Linked DNA regions of Homo sapiens: region 2 is linked to region 1. Evidence: promoter capture Hi-C in 16 types of primary human blood cells and fetal thymus (Javierre and others, 2016). All regions are on one chromosome and are shown on one strand. The core of a region is centred on a gene start or on the middle of the fragment in contact, and the rest is flanking DNA. Distances in the headings are between cores, read along the strand shown.

The links. Contacts are between HindIII fragments. The CHiCAGO score rates a contact against its expected background, and 5 or more counts as called.
Region 2: a contact is called between a fragment that was not itself captured here and the fragment with the promoter of BCAR1 in region 1, in 4 of 17 cell types (endothelial precursors, M2 macrophages, M1 macrophages and 1 more). The highest score is 12.7, in endothelial precursors.

The regions. Positions count from the first base shown.
Region 1 is chr16:75,249,363-75,253,714 of GRCh38, reverse strand. BCAR1 (BCAR1 scaffold protein, Cas family member) reads left to right here and starts at 2,091. Exons shown (of 7, transcript NM_014567.5): 1 at 2,091-2,244. The coding sequence starts at 2,233. RefSeq lists enhancers at 1-257, 258-798, 1,339-1,879 and silencers at 1,879-1,988, 2,049-2,208. The HindIII fragment of the contact is 27,287 bases long and covers 1-4,352 here.
Region 2 is chr16:75,288,223-75,292,800 of GRCh38, reverse strand. No RefSeq gene overlaps it. Among named protein-coding and RNA genes, the nearest start is that of BCAR1, 39 kb to the right of the region's middle. The HindIII fragment of the contact is 1,981 bases long and covers 2,327-4,307 here.

The DNA of each region.
Region 1 (4,352 bases), core at 842-3,341:
CTTAACTTCTGGGGCCTTGTTTCCAAAGCGGAAATGCCATTCTGGGAGGCACAGGCTTTTGGGGGAGGGAATTTAAGTGGAAAAGGAGCAAATTTTTGAAATGCCTGTGTCGGAGCCTGTTTCCCTTGCTGCCTCCTGCTCACACCAGCAGCCCCACCCCCAGTGCTGTTCTAATGCAGCTACTGGGGGAGGAGGGTCTCATCCCCCAAGGTTCCAGCCATCCACCTCCTCTCTGCACCGCCCTCCTTGGCCAACTAGGATGGAGCAGGGGCCAGCTCCCTTGAGGGCCAGGCCTTTTGTGTCCTTGCCCGTCCCTGCAGAGACTGCTGCCTGGGGCCCTGCCAGCAGGGCACTGCCTGCCCATGAGGCCTGGTCTCCCCTCCCCACAGAAGTGGAGGCCCAGGGATGACCTCAGGCTCCTGAGGGTCCCGCTGGTTCAGACCTGCTCTCTGGGAAGCTGGTGTGCCAGCCAGGCTGAGGAGTGGGTGGCTGGACAGGGTCAGGGTGCAGGAGGGGCCCGGCACAGCTCTTGGGAACAAGCAGGAGGAGATGCTCCAGGCAGCTTCCCTGAAGGCTGGCTCCTCTTCTGAGGCGAGGCGGGCTGTGTCGGGGAGGCACAGGGTGTTGGCTAGCTGTTCTGTTCCTCCTGAGGACTCTGGGTCATGCTCTGTCTCATCCCACTGCTCCTTCCTCACCCGCTGTGCTGTGAGTTCTGGCCAATGCTTCCCAAGCCAAATATTGAAGAAATGCAGACGTCCAGTTTTTTGGGAGGGGTGGGACACAGGAGTCTGTTTTTTAACTAGCTCCCCAGAGCACCTGAGCAGCAAATCATGGGCTGTCCTAGCCCCTTTTCAGATGAGAAAGGAGCCCAGAGAGGGGAGAGGGCCTGCCAAGGTGGCACATCTGGCCAGGCGCTGCGTAGGCTGAGCCCTGGGGGTCAGACAGAGGGGCAGCTGCAGGCCCACCTGGGCTTGTGTCTTCCATAGGCCATGCTTGAGAATTCTCTGCTGCGTGAAGCCGGGTCTACCCCGCTGCTTCCCTGCCACCAGGGCTGCCTCGTGGCATCCCATTGCTCAGCCAGTGGCCCAGGATTGTTGACTGAGGGTCCTGTCTGGTCTGGACCAGGCTCGGTCCTATCATCTCCCTGCAGATTGTGCCTCCCTGGCCTGGCCCAGGGGCTCTGGCACCCTGGTTCTGCTGCATGGGGTGACAGTCACTGACCTGCAACCGAGCAAGGGGCAACTCAGGAGAGCCAAGGTTGTCTCCACTCGGTTTCCCCCGAGTGATTCTTCCTTCTATCTCCCTCATTCCCCCAGTGCCGCTCTCCTACCCCATGTCGCTGAAGCAGATGAGTTGGAGCAGGACTCAGGAGGGTACTAGGCCCAGGTTTTAGGCTGAACCTAGGAATGAGTAATGAGAGGAGGCAGATCAGCTGGAGGACCAGCCCGAGTCCCCAGATGTCGGCACAATGCAGGGGAAGGTAGGTGCTGCCCGTGAAAAGCGCTGGGTCGAGAGCTCGCCAGCCTCCCTGCTTGAGGCTTCATTTCCTGGGGTCCTTACACGGTGGGACCGTCTACAGTCGGAGCTGTGGTGGTGATGATTCGTCTCCTACAGGCTGGGGCACGCCCCCTCCCCTTTCCCTCTAGATTCAGATTTGAGTCCCACGGCCCATGGACACGCGATGAATGCCCTGGGGTTGGTTAGCGGGAAAGACAAGTCGACTTGAGGCCATGTCTCGGCTCTGGAGGAAGAAGGCAAACCGGGCAGCCTTCCCAGAAGTGGAGGAGTTTGCGTAGGCCTTCGGTGCGTTCTCGCCTGGGTGGAAGGCGGGGACGTGCATTTGTTGGAGAGCGGTGTCCTGCGCCCTAGGCTGGAAGCCTGGCCTCGGGCAGGGGCCTGGAGCCTCGGGGTTGGAGGTGGGGGGCGGGGCGGGGGGCGGCCCCTACTGGGCGGGCTTCTGTCTGCGCGCCCGCGCCCCCGACAGGCGGCTTATTTGCATGGAGAGCGGCGGCGGCCAATGGGCGCGCGCGGCCGGGCATGCTGGGATCGGGCTGGGCCGGCTGGGCCGTGGCGGCAGGCGGAGAGCGGCTGGACCGGCTCTGGGTGGCCGAGGCGGCAGCTGCGCGGCGGCACCGGGGCGGCTGCGGCGCGCTCGGAGCCCCGAGGGCACGCGGCCCGGGCAGCTCGGTGTGCGCCCCCGCGAGAGCCGGGGCCCCAGGCCCGCCGGACACCATGAACCACCTGGTGAGGGCGCCAGGTGGGGCCGGGCCGCGTACGGGCTTGGAGGCGGCAGCGGGCTGGAAGGGGTTAAGCGAGCGGCATTTCCTGCCGGACCTGCGGGGCCTGGGAACCGCCGGCCGGGGTCCGCGGCCCTGGGATCTCCTTCTGCCCTGGCCGGGAAGCCGGGAGGCAGGAACCGCGGGGGCTCCGGAGCCTGTGCGCCTCGGGTGCGTTGGCGGGGCCGGGCGCGGGGGCCGCCAGCCGGTAGGAGGGTTCCTGTGTCGGGAAAGTGGCTGGCGGGGCCCGCGCTCCCCGGCCGACGGCCGCCTGCTGTGTCACCTTGGGCCTCTGCGCCCTGCCTCCGAGCCTCAGTTTCCTCGGCTGCGAGGAGGGGCCGTTGAGCCTCTGGCGGGTGGTCCGGCTGGTGTGGCGTGGGGACTGCCCACCGGCTCCCGGAGAGGGAGGAGCTCCGGGGGACCGAGGCCGGGCGGGCAAGTGCGTGGCGCCAGCGGGGAAGGCTGCGCAGCCGGAGCACCCGGCTCCAGTTAATGATTCACTCCGGCCGCCGGCGCGGGGTTCCGGGAGCGGAGCGGGAGTGGGGGCGGGCGCGCCGCGGGCTTTGCAGCCCCGCACGCCGAGCGCCGGTGGAAGCCGGGTCCTGGCCACAGGAGTCCTAGCCGCACGCGAGTGTCGCGGGAGGGGGCCAGGGCCGGGTTCTGCAGTGTGGACATGAAGGCTTTGGAGTCCATGGTTGGGGGACCCGCAAGAGCTAGAGCAGGGTCGGAGCTCCCTCTCGAGGGTCCGAGAGGCTGATCGCTGGACCGAGGTGAGGGAGTTGGGAAAGCGGAGATTTGCCTAGGGGTGCGGGGTGAGGGGCTTACGGCCTGGAAGATGTTGGGGTTTCGAGTTCCAGATCGGGGACAGCAGCTCCTTTTCTACCACAAGGCTCCCGTTCCCTCCTGAGAGTCCCTGGTTTCCTTTCCCACACCCCTCCCGGGGCCCGCCGCAGCTTTGGTCACCTTCTCAGAATGACCATGGGTTGATCTCTTCTTTGCTAGTGAGATGTTTCCCATCGCCCTGGGCCGGGACACGCCCCCTCTTGTGCCCATTCCTTTCCCTCGGTGGAGAGTTGGGTGGTGGGGGCTGGCCGGCCTGTGAGAGCAGGTGTCGGGGTGCCTGGAGAATCGGGGCCCAGGTACGGGGGTGGCGGGGCTGTGGGGAAAAGAGCTTTGGGGAGGAGCTGCTGACACTTCCTCCTGGCACTGCTTGCCCGGGAGCTGGGTGGAGGCAGGGCAGGGCAGGGCAGTCCCAGGTTCTGCCAGGAAAGTCACCTTGGGCTGGGGCAGGAGGCTTGGAGCTTCTGGCCGTTACTGTTTGTCTGAGCAGGAGGGTGAGCACTGTGTACTGGTACCATGGCCCCAGGTCTAGGCGAGGGATGGAAATAAGGACAGTGCCACTAGGGCCTCCTGTCTGTACAGGAGGGGCCCTGAGACAGCTCCTCAAACCCCTTTCCCATTATACGGATGGTGCAGATGGGGACACTGAGGTACAGAGAGACAGTCAGTTGTCCTCAGAATTGGATCCAGAACCTCGTCTTCTGGCATGGCCCCCCAGTGCAGCACCACATGTGGCCTCCGAATTCCCAGTCTGGGATTGGGGGAGCTCTGGTCCTTGGGGGACCACCATGCTCTTTTGGAGTTGTCAACTTGGTAGGAACCCTCTGGTTCCAACGCTGTGCCTTTGCGGCCCTCTCCTGGCATCTGCTGTCCCTTTAGGAGGTCCTACCACCCTTTTCTTCTGAGCCTGGACAACTCCTTCCCTTGCCCCCAGGAGCCCACAGCCGGCTAAACCAACTGGTCAGCTAGAACCAACCAGCAGGGGAGGTGCGCTCCAGGGGGGCTTCTAAGAGGAGGCAGTTTTGGAGTCAGAGGTGAAGTGTGGGGAGTGGGATTGGGTGATAGGGAAGTTTCTCCAGCAAAGACACTGGGCAAGCCTCTTCCTTGGCCCCCAGATAAAGGGCTGCAGGGTGGTCTCCGTGTAAGAGGGTGGGGCTCTGCCCTCTGTCAGGCCCTTCCTGGCCCTCCGAGCACAGGAGAGGCCCTGGCTCCACCTGTGTCTTGCTTCCCTGACTT
Region 2 (4,578 bases), core at 2,068-4,567, 38 kb before region 1:
ACCCAACTGTCAACACTAGATGGTTATGGGCTATGGATCTTATTACTCAGAAAGGTAGTTTACAAGCTAAATTTGAACACAATGTCTATTCACATCCCCTCTGATAAATAATTCTAAGTGATTGTAGAGCATTTCAGGCCAGCGTCACAACAGGCGGCCTGCGAGGTCTTAGTTATGGTCCCAAATGGGACATAATAACTGAGGAAGGTGGGCCAGGTGGCTCATGCCTGTAATCCCAGCACTTTGGGAGGCCGAGGCAGGTGGATTGCTTGAGCTCAGGAGTTCACGATCAGCCTGGGCAACATGATGAAACCCTGTCTTCACCAAAAATACAAAAAGAAATTAGCCAGGCATGGTGGTGCATGCCTGTAGTCCCAGCTACTCAGGAGACTAAGGTGGGAGGATCACTTAAGCCCTGGAAGTTGAGGCTGCACTTAGCCAAGATCGTGCCATTTCACTCCGGCCTGGGCAAAAGGAGTGAGACCCTGTCTGAAAAACAAAAAAAGAATAACCTAAGAGCTGCCAATATTTTGATTAGAGGACATCCAGACCTTCAGGAGGTAGCAGCCAAGATTTGATGTGAATGTCCTCCCACATGGTACTCTCTGGCTCATCATCCGTCATTCACCACCATTTGGCAACTGTTTCCCTAACTCTTCTCTGGAGTTCTGAGTCCCTCTTCCATTGCGCTTCACAAAGTTCTTCATCTCAGCAGCCAGTGTCTCAGCAACACGTGAGCTGGCTCTCTCCCTATTTGAAAAATGATCTGAAATCCAATAGAATGAATGGTGCTGAGTTCATAGTAAGTTAGGGTTTTTCTTTTTAGCAAATGTTAACACCTGTGAAGCCTAAGGGATTAAGACAAAAGCTGCAAAGCCTGCTGGGTTCTTCTCACAGGTGGGTTTGCTATTCCTGTTTTGCTCCAAGCCATGAAAGGAGAAGTCAGATGTGTCAGTGAAAGTCGTAACTGTGTGCTTGGGCCCTGCCTTTCTTGTTCAGGATCCAGCCCCCCGCCACAGGTTTTCTCCATCTGTACCTGTGTTAAGTTAATGTCATGATTCTGGAGAAAGGTCGGTTCCTTTCTGCTGTCTGTTGATTGGTGCCCCTTTTCCCAGCAGGGTTGCTGCCCACATCTGACCTCCACACAATCACCCATTACCTCTCCATGAGTCTTTTAGAAAGCCCCTCTAGTCTAGTCTTTTTTGACAGATTCTGGCTGCCTGTCAGGGAATACATGGCTATTTGCATCGATCCTATTACAGGTGCCCTGTTTCCCAATTTGTAGATCCGTGCTTCGGAGTCTCACACTTTCCCACTTTAAACTGTGCTGGTTGCCTTGACTTTAGCTGTCACTCTCTTGGTCTACATGGAACCTCTTTAAAAGCCTCCTGTACTGACCTCACTTCATCTCACTGATAAACCACTTACTCTGACTGATACATGTGCATCTGTATGTATGTATTATGTATACCTGTGTCATCTTACAATGAGGGTTCATATCAGACTTTCATTTATGTCTCACTGGCCATAGCTGGGTCATTGAACTGCCTCTAGCTGTAGGGAAGGCTGGAAAAGTGAGTGTCATGGAAAACAGGCAAGGCAGGGTGGGGAGGTGAGCCCTGGGGGACTGCCCACACTCTCCTAGAACAGCCTGAGCACATCAAAGTCCTTCCTTAGAGCCTCTGACAATTTTTTTTTTTTTTTGAGATGGAGTCTCACTTTGTTGCCCTGGCTGGAGTGCAGTGGTGCAACCTTGGCTCACTGCAGCCTCCACCTCTTGGATTCAAGTGATTTTCCTGCCTCAGCCTCCCAAGTTGCTGGGATTACAGGCGTGTAATCCTGGCTGGATTACACAACCACGTCTGGCTAATTTTTGTATTTTTAGTAGAGATGGGGTTTCACCATGTTGGTCAGGCTAGTCTCAAACTCCTGACCTCAGGTGAACCACCCACCTTGGCCTTCCAAAGTGTTGGGATTACAATGGCCATGAGTGTGGTAGAGGGGACCCTGGTACAGGAAGGAGGTCCTCTCTACCTCCTAAGATCCTGTGCCTGTTTTTCTTTTCTTTCTTTCTTCTTTTTTTTTTTTTTTTGAGACAGGGTCTTGCTCTGTTGCCCAATTAGTGCAGTGGCATGATCATGGTTCACTGTAGCCTCAACCTCTTGGGCTCAAGAGATCCTTTCATCTCAGCCTCCCAAGCAGCTAGGACCACAGGTATACACCACTGCACCCAGCTAACTTTGTAATTTTTTGTAGAGATGGGCATTCACTGTGTTGCCCAGGCTGGTCTTAACTATGCCTGTTTTAACAACTTGGAAACCAAGCTTTGCAGATTCTGACACCTCATCTTCCCAGACTCTGAAGGGCCTCCTCTGGCCCTTTGTTTTTACTCCTTACTGTTGTGGATCAAGTTCAAGGGACAGGAGAACTGGCCAGCAAGAGAGGGTCCTTAGGCATTAGCAGTGGGTATCTACAAATGGGTGGCTGTTTCTTGTAGGTGTAAGCCAGGCCCCAGGAGGCAGGAGTCTTCTCAAGCCCTGCCTGACCATCCCCATGGGCTGGGTGCTGTGGCTGCAGAATGGAGCAGGCCTTTGGCACCAGCCAGTGACCCAGGCAGAGGACCAAGCAGGTGGGTGTCCATGGGGGTGCCTAAGACGGGGATGGACCACTCTTGGGTATTCCTCTCGGTCATCTGTGCTGCCTGAGCCCATCTGTGCCCTCAGTGGGACCTACCTTCTCAGCCAGCATTGCTACCTGTCCCATCCTCTTCCTACCTCATGCTCAGAGGACTGAGCCTCCTCAGCAAATGCCTAGCCTTTCTCAGTGGACCCACCGAGACCAGGCTGGTGGGTGGGACTAATTAAAGTGTGTTTGCCCTCAATCAAGAATCACCTTTTCGGCCAGGCACAGTGGCTCACGCCTGTAATCCCAGTACTTTGAGAGGCTGAGGCAGGCAGATCGCTTGAGGCCAGGAGTTTGAGACCAGCCTGGGCAACATACAGCGAGACCCTATCTCTGCAAAAAATTTAAAAATTAGCTGGACATAGTGGTGCATGGCTGTGATCCCAGCTACTTGGGAGACTGAGGTGGGAGGATCACTTGAGCCCAGGGAGTCAAGGTTGCAGTAAGCTGTGATTGCACCCTTGCTCTCCAGCCTGGGCGACAGAGCAAGACCCTGTCTCAAAAACAAACAAACAAAAAAATCACCTTTTTTAAAATTACAAGTCTGATTTGAACCATGACAGACACTATCCTGCCCACAATTTTTAAGAACAAGTGACTAATATTTTATCTAGCTCTCACATCCACATTTAGTGAAAACTCATCTAACTCCCAAAGGAAGTGATGTCCCTTTATCCAGGAGTTGGAAATTGTCAAGGAAACTGTTTGCAGGAAGTGGGAAGTGGAAAGAGTGAGTCAGTGCTAAGAGGTGTTTGGCAGCCTTCTGCAGGGCATAGTGCTTGTCCCCTGCTGTGGTGTGAATGGCTGACAAGGACAGTCCAAGGACACCTTCTTAGCTGGTCCTGTGGAGTCCAGAGACTCCCCTGGAGTTGACTTTCCTGGCCTTGCTCTTGTCCTCTCCAAGTCCCAAATGGGTGTGTCAGATTTCCAGGGCATCTGGTACCTTCTCATTACTGAAAAAAACTGCCCTAAAACAGGATAATGTCAAAAGTAAAATAAGCCTCTTGATGTGCTCTGCTCACCTATTTCCTGAGGAATGCAGTGCTCTAATTAGGAAGTCTGCATAAGGTCTCTAGGGGCAAAACGGGACACATTAAGAAGGAAATCCTGAGTGAGCTGTACACTGTCAGCATCCATATGGAGGTACTGGACTAAGGCCTGACAGACACTTAGCTGGCACCTGACTTCAGAACTGGGCAGTGCAGGTTAGCTGAGTGGCTGGCACCGCGAAGGCCAGGAGACGTCCTGGGCAGGAGTGGAGTGATGGTGCTTCTGGCACCCTGGCAGGGACCAGGAAGGCCGGTGACAGGCTCTCCAGGTGCCATGCTGCCTCGTGGCAGCAGAACAGAGGCGATGTGGTTGGTGTGGTGAGATGGGAGTATGTGGTGTGGCGTAGTTAACATGGTGTGGTGTGATGTGGTCTGCGGTCTGACACGGGGTGGTAGAAAGGGCTAGAACAGGCTCTCAAGATCAGTCTTCTGCTTTTTGGTATCAGTCCTTAGCCAGATCTGGAATTGCTCAGGCATGTTGGGTGAGACTTAGGACTTTTTTAATTACCAAAAAGTACAGGTGAACAAACAGGAATTGGGCTGAGAATGGTGGGTTCCTGGGAAGGATCAGAAGCTTTTAGCTTCATCAGCGAACGATCGGTTGGTCCTGCATGCCAGATGCTTCCTGACATGCTATCTTGTTAGATCCTCTGCCCTTTCAGAGGAGGAAACTTGCCTGAGGTCATCTGGTAACACAGCCAGGGCCGCACCCACATGGCATGGCTGGAGGGCAGGATGTAGGAGGCAGCAAGATTGAACAGCCTCTCATCACCCCCTGGATCCCAGCGCCATGTTGGGAAGGAAAGACCCGAGGGCAAGGAGACAGAAAAACCAAAGGTTGAGAAGG